Linked DNA regions of Homo sapiens: region 1 is linked to region 2. Evidence: promoter capture Hi-C in human tissues and cell types (Jung and others, 2019). All regions are on one chromosome and are shown on one strand. Each heading gives the region's core, a stretch centred on a gene start or on the middle of the fragment in contact. The rest is flanking DNA. Distances are from core to core; before and after follow the strand shown.

Evidence for each region. Contacts are between HindIII fragments. The study calls those that stand out against the background at their distance.
Region 1: a fragment that was not itself captured here is called in contact with the fragment with the promoter of PTGIR in region 2 in 3 of the 25 tissues and cell types used here (IMR-90 fibroblasts, dorsolateral prefrontal cortex and lymphoblastoid cells).

The regions. Positions count from the first base shown.
Region 1 is chr19:46,965,174-46,970,351 of GRCh38, reverse strand. The region is part of intron 3 of ARHGAP35 (Rho GTPase activating protein 35); the gene reads right to left. Among named protein-coding and RNA genes, the nearest start is that of NPAS1, 52 kb to the left of the region's middle. The HindIII fragment of the contact is 4,877 bases long and covers 1-4,514 here.
Region 2 is chr19:46,622,832-46,628,759 of GRCh38, reverse strand. It overlaps PTGIR (prostaglandin I2 receptor), which reads left to right and starts at 3,671. Exons shown (of 3, transcript NM_000960.4): 1 at 3,671-3,763; 2 at 4,523-5,302. The coding sequence starts at 4,535. RefSeq lists an enhancer at 2,956-3,456. The HindIII fragment of the contact is 28,599 bases long and covers 1-5,928 here.

The DNA of each region.
Region 1 (5,178 bases), core at 827-3,326, 340 kb before region 2:
CACTGCACTGGGTTCCTCAAATCACAAATATTTCTGCAAACACCAAGGATGGCTCTTGTAGCAGCAATATCCCATAGCATTAAGAAGTGAAACACAGCTTGTGTGCAATATATTGCCAATGGAAATAGCTTAGGGCTGGGTAAGGAAAAAGAAAAATGTTGACAGACTTAAGCCAAGATGAGATCTTGAAGTGATCAAGCCCCAAGAATTCACCCTGCACCCCATGACTTTCTTTCTTTGTCCCAATCTAATTCAATCCGTGGAAAGAAAAATTCACTAATTCCTTCAATAGATACCCGAGTGCCTACTATGGGTCACAGGTAATGGAAAGAAGAGGCAGTCTTTGCCCCAATTCCTCACAGTTCAGTAGGGGAAACAGAGAAGCCAGGCAGCGGAGCAAAGGCAGCGTGGTGGCAGTGGTGGTGTGTGCAGGGGTCCAGCTCTCCTGGTGCTGCTGCCTCACTTGCCTTGGCAGGTGGGAGGGGGGTATTCACAGAAGCATTCCTAGGAAAATACAGAGGGCAGATGGAAAAACAAAGTCCTCGAATCCAGCCCAGTAACACTTGTAGCAGACAGATCCAACAATGGCATGAGTAGATCTCCTTCAGAGAACCTAGGAAAGACGTGTTGCTTCTCTGAGCTGATGACACCCCACAGAAAACAAGTCGCTGAGTGGTTATTGAGGGCAGGACTGGTCCAACCCTCTGCCCCTAGACCTCTGCAGGAGGCAAGTGCTCTCTAAGGGTCTGTGTGTCGCAGCTCACGCGGGCTGGATGCAGACGTTCACCGAAGACACTAGTGCTGTCTCCCATCCCTGGTTGCTCCTGAGAGTGGAGCAGTGCCTCAAGCAGTCCGACAGAGTGTATGTGCCAGACAGGAGAAACCACCAGGCAGTGAGGAAGCTTTGTCAGAGCAGGTCTCTTCTCCAAGGACCCACCTCAAAAAGAACACAGGCCACTGCAGACTCAGTGAAAAATTTTAAGTAGCAAACCTGGAGTAAAACATCTATCCACCTATCCTCCGTTTATTATGATTATTATTTCACAACCGTTTTATTGAGATATAATTCACACAACATACAATTCACCCACTGTGAGAGTGTCCAATTCGATGGCTGTGAGCACATTCAGAGTTGCACAAGTATCACCACAATTTTAGAGCACTGTCATCAACACCCAAAAAACTGTATCCATGAGCAGCCACTCCAAATTTCTCCCTTCTCGCAGCCCCTGGCAACCACTCATCTACTTCTTTCTATTTTTTTTTTGAGACAGTCCTGCTCTCTGGCCCAGGCTGGAGTGCAGTGGTGCAACCTTGGCTCACTGCAACCTCTGCCTTCCAGGTTCAAGAGATTCTTCCGCCTCAGTCTCCTGAATAGCTGGGATTACAGGCACACACCACTACGCCCGGCTAATTTTTGTATTTTTAGTAGAGACAGGGTTTCATCATGTTGGCCAGGATGGTCTTGAACTCCCGACCTGAGATGATCTGCCTGCCTTGGCCTCCCAAAGTGCTGGGATTACAGGTGTGAGCCACTGCACCCGGCCCACTAATCTACTTTCTATCTTTATAGATTAGCCTATTCTAGATAATTCTGTGTAAATGAGATCATGGGCCATGTGATCTTGTGTGACTAGTTTACCTCACTTAGCGTAATGTTTTCAAGGTTCATCCATCTGTAGCACGTCACTACTTTGTTCCTTTTTACGGCCGAATAATATTCTACTGTATGAATATATTATATCTCGTTATCCATTCACTCATCAGTGGGATATTTGGGTTCTTACCATTTTGGGGCTATTATGAATAATGTGGCCTCCATATTATTTTGAACCCAAATTCTGAAGTGACCTACAGATATTTCCCCAAACTCAGGAAGGATGTGTGTGACACTTTGTGGCTGGCCTCCAGCCGAGGGACAGCAGGCTTCCCATTAGCCTTGCCGGTGGATTCCCTTGCTTTCTTCCCTCCTGCTCTGCTGACCCACAGCTCCTTCTGTCCAAGCCCATTTATTTAGATATCCCACCTAAATGTTTCACACGCATGCCCTATCAGCAACACACATGCTGTGCCCCTACACTAAACACTGGGCATTTGCTCCTGCCCAGATACTGCCACCTTGCTCAAGACCTTAGTGTTATATGAATCTTCTTCCTCCTCCCTTTCTATGTATACAATTCCACGTTTCCACCACTGAATGAAGCTTTTGAGGGGAGAGGTCTCTGGAGTGTTTCTGTGCCATTCAGTCATTCATCATCATTTACTAGAGCCCTGTATGCTTGGCTTGGAGGAGACAATGAAGATGACCCGGTCCCTTCCCTCAAGGAACTTAGGATCCATTGAGGAAGGAAGACAATCAGAGTACAGTGTGCTACGTGTTCACTGGGAAAGCACAGGGCGTGACAGACATGGCAGGGAGCCCTGGCTCACAGAGCAGGTCAGAGAAGGACTCCGGGCGTGACAGACACGGCAGGGAGCCCTGGCTCACAGAGCAGATCAGAGAAGGACTCTGGGAGGGAGTCTCGAAGTGGAACAGCAAGGAAAGGCAGTGCGGGTGAGAAATATAATGGCAGCTTAAGGAACTGTGCGTAGTTTTAATCTGTGGGCTGAAGTTTAGAGTGAATGAAGGAAATGGCAAGAGGCAGAGCTAGACAGTGGGCAGGGACCACATCCTGCTGGTAAGTAGTAGGATGAAACTTCATCCTAGAGTGATACAGAACCACTGATGAGTTTTAAGCAGGTGAAGATGAAGTGATCCCATTTATTTTGGAAAGATATTTGCAGCAGTGTGCATAAGGGACTGAAAGGACATGAGACCAGAAACAGGAAGGTCAATTACAAAGAGGCTACCACAGTAAACCAAGAAGAGGGTGAGAGACTAAACGCAGGGGCAGGGGCCAGGCTGAAAACACGCTTAGGTGGTAAAAACAATGGGACTGACTGATGAGGTTGACTGGTGTGGGAAGGTAACAAGGGAGAGACCCCCTCCCCATGGAGGACATGCTGTTGACTCAGGTCAGCAGATTCTCTGGGATGAAAACCTTCAAACCCTACCTTCCCGCAAATGGTAACGGTGAGGGCTGACAAGCTTTCTCAGGAGTGAGAAAATCCTTCTTCCAAATGAAATCTTAAACTGAACCTTAAGGCTGAAGGATCCAGAGTCCTGGTGGCCTGACCTTTCCCGTCCCCATGCAGAAGGACTCCCTTACAATTCTAGGGATCTGAGAAAAAAAAAAAAAATCTGAAAAGCCCAGGCCAAGTCCAATTGCTGGAGGCTGACGTTCAAAGGATTTTAGGGCAATATGGCTACGTGGTCAGCACGGCCTCTCACCTCTACACCTGACTCTCATTCAGTTGACTTTCCACACCTAGACTATTCCTCCCATCCTGTTAGAGAATCCAGTGTATCTTTAAGGACAAGCCTCCATCCCAGACTCCAAGCAAGCAAGCTCCCTGACTTCTGCAGCACTAACCCCTGCAGCCTCATGGGCACTGGGCAAACTGACTGTGGAGAGATATTAATTTTCTCTTTGATGTGTGTAGTCATCTCCAATGGGGGCTGGCCTCAGGCTTCCTCAGGATCTTCTTGGCTTCAAAAATGCCTTGTACTTGATAGGCCAGAAATATTATTATAGACTAACTTATTACACTCACTCCATCCCATCAACCCTAGAAAGTAAGACAAACAACTGTAATGACTACACAAGAAAAAAGAGAAGAGGAAAAAAAGCAGAGAGGTGTCATGACTTTGAAATGAAGGACCATACATTACAAAGATGTTCAATTGCATTTTTTGGGGGTGGGGGACAGGGTCTTGCTTTGTTACTCAGGCTGGAGTACAGTGGTGCAACCATGGCTCACCATGGCTTCAACCTCCCACGCTCAAGTGATTCTCCTGCCTCAGTCTCCCAATCAGCCAGGACTACAGGTATGCACCAGCACACCTGATTAATTTTCTAATTTTTTGTAGAGACAGAGTCTCGATATGTTGCTGGGGCTGGTCTTGAATTCCTGGGTTCAAGCAATCCTCCTGCTTCAGCTTCCCAAAGTGTTGGGATTACAGGCATGAGCCACTGCGCCTGGCCTCAATTGCATTTTGTATATAAATAAAATAAAAATCTCAATGGAATGGTTAAAATGCACTAAATAAAATAATACCAAAAATCGTATAAATATTTTGCAAAGAAAGAAAAAAATACCAAAAATATCTTTAAAAGATCCAATAGAAAATATCACATATGGCAAACTGGAAGGTTGCAAAGTAGACCCCAGGGGCTGCTGGATGTACAAGTGAAGCTAGGTATTGAGGCTGGGGAGACTGAGGGTTTCCAACTAATACTTCCTTTATTGACTTGGTTTTGACCAGAGAAGACTAAGAGTCCTTCTAGGGGGCAATATGAACTATCTTATTCATATTTTAGCCTCCAGCATCTAATGGAACTGACACATAACAGGTGTTCAATTATTCTTTTAGGATTGTAAAAACTAAACATTGTGAGGCTAAAGAATATTCTGGCAAAGACAGCAATTATGGGAATGAAACATGGAGTTGAAAAAGATTAATCCAGGCCGAGTGCAGCAGTTCACGCCTGTAATCCCAGCACTTTGGGAGGCTGAGGCAGGAGAGTCACTTGAGCGCAGGAGTTGGAGATCAGCCTGGGCAACATGGCGAAACCCCATCTCTACAAAAAATACAAGAATTAGCTGAGCATGGTGGTGTGCACCTGAAGTTCCAGCTACTTGGGAGGCTGAGGTGGGAGGATTACTTGAGCCTGGGAGATCGAGGCTGCAATGAGCCATGACTGTGCCACGGCACACCAGCCTAGGTGACAAAGTGAGACCCTGTCTCAAAACAAACAAACAAACAAACAAACAAACAAACAAAAAACCCAAGAAAAAGACCCAGAGAAAAAGTTGAATTTTACCAGCTATTAAAGCACTTTTGAGAGTAAAAATTTAGGAAACATGATTTTGGTATAAAAACAAGAAAGTAAAATCAGTAAAACAAAAGAAATCTTAGAAAAGACTCTTTTTTTTTGAGATGAAGTCTCGCTCTTGTCCTCCAGGCTGGAGTGCAATGGCGCAATCTCGGCTCACTGCAACCTCTGCCTCCTGGGTTCCAGCGATTCTCCTGCTTCAGCCTCCTGAGTAGCTGGGATTACAGGCACCTGTCACCAC
Region 2 (5,928 bases), core at 2,422-4,921:
TGGGAGGCCAAGGTGGGAGGATCACTTGAGCCCATGAATTTGAGACCAGCCTGGACAACATAGTGGGATCCTATCTCTACAAAACAATAAAAGTATTAGCTGGGCATGGTGGTGAGCACTTGTGGTCCCAGCTATCTGGGAGGCTGAGGTGGGAAGATTGCTTAAGCCTGGGAGGTAGAGGTTGCAGTGAGCTGAGATCGTGCCACTGCACTCCAGCCTGGGTGACAGAGTGAAACCCTGTCTCAAAAAAACTAGGTTGCGCACGGTGGCTCACACCTGTAATCCCAGAACTTTGGGAGGCTGAGGCCGGCGGATCACCTGAGATCAGGAGTTTGAGACCAGCCTGGCCAACATAGTGAAATCCCATCTGTACTAAAATACAAAAATTAGCTGGGCGTGGTGGCAGGTGCCTGTAATCCCAGCTACTCGGGAGGCTGAGGCAGGAGAATCACTTGAACCTGGGAGGTGGAGGTTGTGGTGAGCCGAGATGGCACCACTGCACTCCAGCCTGGGCAAAAGAGCAAGACTCCATCTCAAAAACAAAACAAAACTACAACATAGCTGTGTGCCCATGTGCACACAGAGTCCCACGAGCTCACAATACACATATACACACAATACACACGCAAACACAATCAATGCTGAGAAAAATGCTCACTTAGGTCACATGGGCCGCACTAACTCTACAGAGAGTCACAATCCGGTTACACACCCACAGTCCCCAGCACACTAGCCTCAATCTCTCTCCCCTCCCGGGTGCTGTGTGTGCGTCCCTAATCTCAGTGGTCTCTGAGCTGTCCTTCCTCTTTTTCCCTGCTGCTTCAGGGTCCCCCTCAGGGAGGCCTGGTCCTGTTCCTCGCCATGGGTGGAGAGAGTGTGAGATGGAGGCTACGGACCCACGCCCCCAGGGCAGTTCCTTCCATAGCTCCGCCCACCCTGGAAGCTGCCCCTGGCACAACGCACCGTGGGTGATTTCTCACCCCAAGGCACCTGGCTGGGGAGTGGAACCCCCGTGTGGACCCTGCTGTGGGCTTGGCCCGGCTAGCTGGGGCCACGGCCAAGCAGGAGGCTGGGTTTCAGGGCAAGGTGACTGAGGCATGTCTGGCGCCAGTACGGACTCTGGGGAACTCAGTCCCCTCATTAGGAGGGAGTCACAGTCACTGCCACCCCTACCTGCTCCTGATGCAGGAACACAGAACCGATCCTGGGGTTGCGAGGGCTCATGACTCCTAGTGGCATCGGCGGGGAAACTGAGGCCTGAGGCCAGGCGTGGTGGCCTATAATCCCAGCACTTTGGGAAGCCGAGGTAGGCAGATCACTTGAGTCCAGGAGTTTGAGACCAGCCTGGGTGACACAGTGAAACCCTGTCTTTACAAAAATACAAAAATTAGCTAGCGTGGCAGTGGGTGCCTGTAGTCCCAGCTACTCAGGAGGCTGAGGTGGGAGGATCGCTTGAACCCCAGAGGTAGAGGTTGCAGTGAACCGAGATTGCAGCACTACACTCCAGCCTGGGTGACAGAGCAAGACCCTGTCTCAAAAACAAACGAACAGCCAGGCAAGGTGGTTCACGCCTGTAATCCCAGCACTATGGGAGGCCGAGGCGGGCGGATCACCTGAGGTCAGGCGTTCAAGACCAGCCTGGCCAACATGGTGAAACCCCACCTCTACTAAAAATATAAAAATTGGGCGCAGTGGCACATGCCTGTAATCCCAGCTACTCGGGAGGCTGAGGCACGAGAGTCGCTTGAACCCGGGAGGCGGAGGTTGCAGTGAGCTGAGATCATGCCAGTGTACTCCAGCCTGGGTGACAGAGCAAGATTCCATCTCAAAACAAAAACAAACAAGCAAAAAGAAAAACAACAACAAAAAAGAAACTGAGGCCTGGAAGGGACAAGGGTTTGACTGTGGTCCCACTGGGCATGGGAGCAGAGGGGACTTCCTGAATGTTAACCGTCCTTGTAACAGGAAGCGAGAGAGGGAGTCTCCGGGAACCAGAGGCCCCCCCGATGCCGAAACAAGATGCACGCCTGCCAGGCATCATCCTTCATTAATATGATATAACTTCCTGAGTTCCCTCTGGTCTGTCTGGGGACCTCACGGCATGAGGCGGGACAACGTGGCAGGACCTGGAGCCCACATGTACAGGCACCCCCAGAGCAGGGCTGGGGGGTCCCTTAGGGAGCCACGGTGGGGCTGGAACTTGGGCGTCCATCCTGCTGGAAGCTGCGGGTGCCAGCTGGGCAAGGGTGATAGGGAGATGGGGGGGAGGGGCAAAGGGGTTGTGGTCACACACCGGGGTACAGAGGGCAAGACGGCAGCTGCCCACAGTCCAGTCCTTGGGTTGGACACATCCCTCCTGGCCTTGGACAAGAGACACCCGCACAGCCTCTCTCCTTGTTACAAAGACCAATCTGGGATGTGCTGCAGGCCGAGGCTGGCCACCAGGTCCCTGAGGCCCGTGTTACCCCACGCACAGAGAAGGAGGCTGAAGTCTACCAGCTCCCTCTCCTCACCTGGGACCATCTCGCAGCAAGAAAAAAGGTGGTCAGATGGAAACAGGAAGCCAAGTCGAATGGATCTGAGACCGTCCCCCTGAGAAACAGCGGGGCTCAGAGAGGGTCTCTGAGGTTTTATCTGGCCCTTTTGGGCTGGGAGGCTGCCTGGGAAGCCACCGACTCCGTGGGAAGGGAGACCCGTGAACGCTGTGCGGGTAGCGGGAACATGTGGGTCTGTCACACTGGCCCGAGGCTGCAGCGGTGGTGGCTTGGCTGTGTTTGGGGAGGGTGGGGGACACATGGCAGCAATGTTGGAGCTGTGGACAGCTTCCTGTGATCAAAATATGATTCCTGAAGGTCAAGGTCACCAGAGCTTGGCCTGGGGCCTAGGGGTGCTGTGCGAGAAGTCGGACGGTGGCCCAGTGCTACCTTTCCATCATGGGCCATGGAAGTCTCCCAAGCCTGTCCCTGACAACTGGACACCAAATACACCCCTTCATGCTTTCTTCTCGGGTCTCTGCAGGGTGAGCTGGGTGCCCAGGGACAGGCTCGAGGGACTGGCATGTCTCTCTCTGGCCAAGCCTCCTTCCTCAGCTTTCTGGAAGGAGTGAATTGTGTCCAGGGACCAGAACTCTCAGTGGTGTCTGGAAAACACTACATCAGAGAGGAATTTCCTGGTCATTTCTCAATCCCTGGGCAATGTCCTCAGCCCCGGGGCCTGGAGCCCAGAATAGATCCCAGAGGCCACCCTGAGACAGCCCAGGCCAAGACCACCCCACTGAAGCCTGGTCAACTGTGCTCTTCAGGTCCCTCCTAGAGGCCCCCTACTACCCCGGGAGGCTCCAAGCCTAAGTGATGGTGACTCAGGAATTCCCCACCCAGGCCAGAGAGGGAGACACTGGGGGAGGGAGGAGACCTGTGTGTGGGGAGGTGGCAGGTGGCTCAGTGATGGGAACCAAGAGAGGATGTGGGGAGGAGAGTGGAGGCAGCGATGGGAGATGGATGTCCTGGATTGGGCGGGTGGACGGGGAGTGGGGAGTGTGCCAGGGGGCCCTCTGGAGAACAGTGAGGGAGGGCGGGGCAGAGAGAGGAAATGAAAAAGCTGGGGTGAGCAGGCAAGCTGAGGAGGGTGGGAAGGAGGGAGGGACGGAGGGAGGAGGGAAGGAGAAGCTGACACACAGACCGACACAGGCAGCGAGAGACACGAGGAGCAAAGCAAGTGAAGGCACAGACGCACGGGACAGGAGAGCCTGGGCAAGACTGGAGAGGTGCGGTGAGGGGCTGGGGATGCAGCAACACAGAGCAGGAGCAGGTAGAGGGTGTGGGGTTAGAGGGAGAAAGGTACGGGGAGGACAAGGACAAGGGAGGGGACAGAGACAGGGAGATATCAGCAAGAGACCGAGAGACAGGGAGGGAAAGAACTGGCAATGCCCGGATGTTCTCTGTCTCTTTAATGGCAGAAACAGAGCTAGAGAAGGAAAGAAACAGGAGGTGGTGGGGGGGTGGTGGGTGTCAGGCATGGTGGCTCACACCTGTAATCTCAGCACTTTGGGAAGCCAAGGTGGATGGATCACCTGAGGTCAGGAGTTCGAGACCAGCCTGACCAACATGGTGGAACCCCGTCTCTACTGAAAATACAAAAATTAGCTGGGCGTGGTAGTGGACGCCTGTAATCTCATCTACTCCAGAGGCTGGGGCAGGAGAATCGCTTGAACCCAGGAGGTGGAGGTTGCAGTGAGCCGAGATCATGCCATTGCTCTCCATCCTGGACAACAGAGTGAGACTCTGTCTCAAAAGAAACGAAAGAAAAGAAAGAGAGAAAGAGAAACAGGAAGGTGGGGAGAGACAGAGAGAGATACTGGAGAAGCCAGAGGGGAGAGGACTGCATACCCGCACACACAGGAGAACTGGGGGTTGGCTGGGAGGCCCCAGCTGCCAAAAGGACTGGCCAGCAGGGACATCTGAGTGGGCTGGGTGGTGGGGGTAGCCCTGGCTCCCTCTGACCCCCCACCTTGGGAACCCTCCAGCCCAGACCTGGGATGGCGGATTCGTGCAGGAACCTCACCTACGTGCGGGGCTCGGTGGGGCCGGCCACCAGCACCCTGATGTTCGTGGCCGGTGTGGTGGGCAACGGGCTGGCCCTGGGCATCCTGAGCGCACGGCGACCGGCGCGCCCCTCGGCCTTCGCGGTGCTGGTGACCGGACTGGCGGCCACCGACCTGCTGGGCACCAGCTTCCTGAGCCCGGCCGTGTTCGTGGCCTATGCGCGCAACAGCTCCCTGCTGGGCCTGGCCCGAGGCGGCCCCGCCCTGTGCGATGCCTTCGCCTTCGCCATGACCTTCTTCGGCCTGGCGTCCATGCTCATCCTCTTTGCCATGGCCGTGGAGCGCTGCCTGGCGCTGAGCCACCCCTACCTCTACGCGCAGCTGGACGGGCCCCGCTGCGCCCGCCTGGCGCTGCCAGCCATCTACGCCTTCTGCGTCCTCTTCTGCGCGCTGCCCCTGCTGGGCCTGGGCCAACACCAGCAGTACTGCCCCGGCAGCTGGTGCTTCCTCCGCATGCGCTGGGCCCAGCCGGGCGGCGCCGCCTTCTCGCTGGCCTACGCCGGCCTGGTGGCCCTGCTGGTGGCTGCCATCTTCCTCTGCAACGGCTCGGTCACCCTCAGCCTCTGCCGCATGTACCGCCAGCAGAAGCGCCACCAGGGCTCTCTGGGTCCACGGCCGCGCACCGGAGAGGACGAGGTGGACCACCTGATCCTGCTGGCCCTCATGACAGTGGTCATGGCCGTGTGCTCCCTGCCTCTCACGGTGAGTCCCCTCCGGAGCTGGGAGGAGTGGGGAGAGGAGGAGGGCAGCTCTGTGGGTTGTGCCCATGTCACAGATGGGGAGACTGAGGCTCAAAAGAGGTGAGACATCGTGGGCATGGTGGCTCACGCCTGTAATCCCAGCATGTAGAAAGGCCGAGGCAGGACCGGATGCGGTGGCTCACACCTGTAATCCCAGCACTTTGGGAGGCCGAGGCCGGCGGATCATTTGAGGTCAGGAGTTCGAGACCAGTCTGGCCAACATGATGAAACCCTGTCTCTACTAAAAATACAACAAATAAATAAATAAAAAGTAGCCGGACGTAGTGGCACATGCCTGAAGTCCCAGCTACTTGGGAGGCTGAGCCAGGAGAATCGCTTGAACCCCGGAGGCGGAGGTTGCAGTGAGCTGAGATCGTGCCACTGCACTATAGCCTGGGTGACAGAGTGAGACCCCGTCCCAAAAAAAAAAAAAAAAAAATAAGAAAAAAAAGAAAAAGAAAGGCGAGGCAGGACGATCACTTGAGCCCAGAGGTTTGAGACCAGCCTGGGCAACATGGTGAAACCCCATCTCTATGAAACATTTAAAAATTAGCCTGGCATGATGGCCTGTGCCTGTGGTCTCAGCTA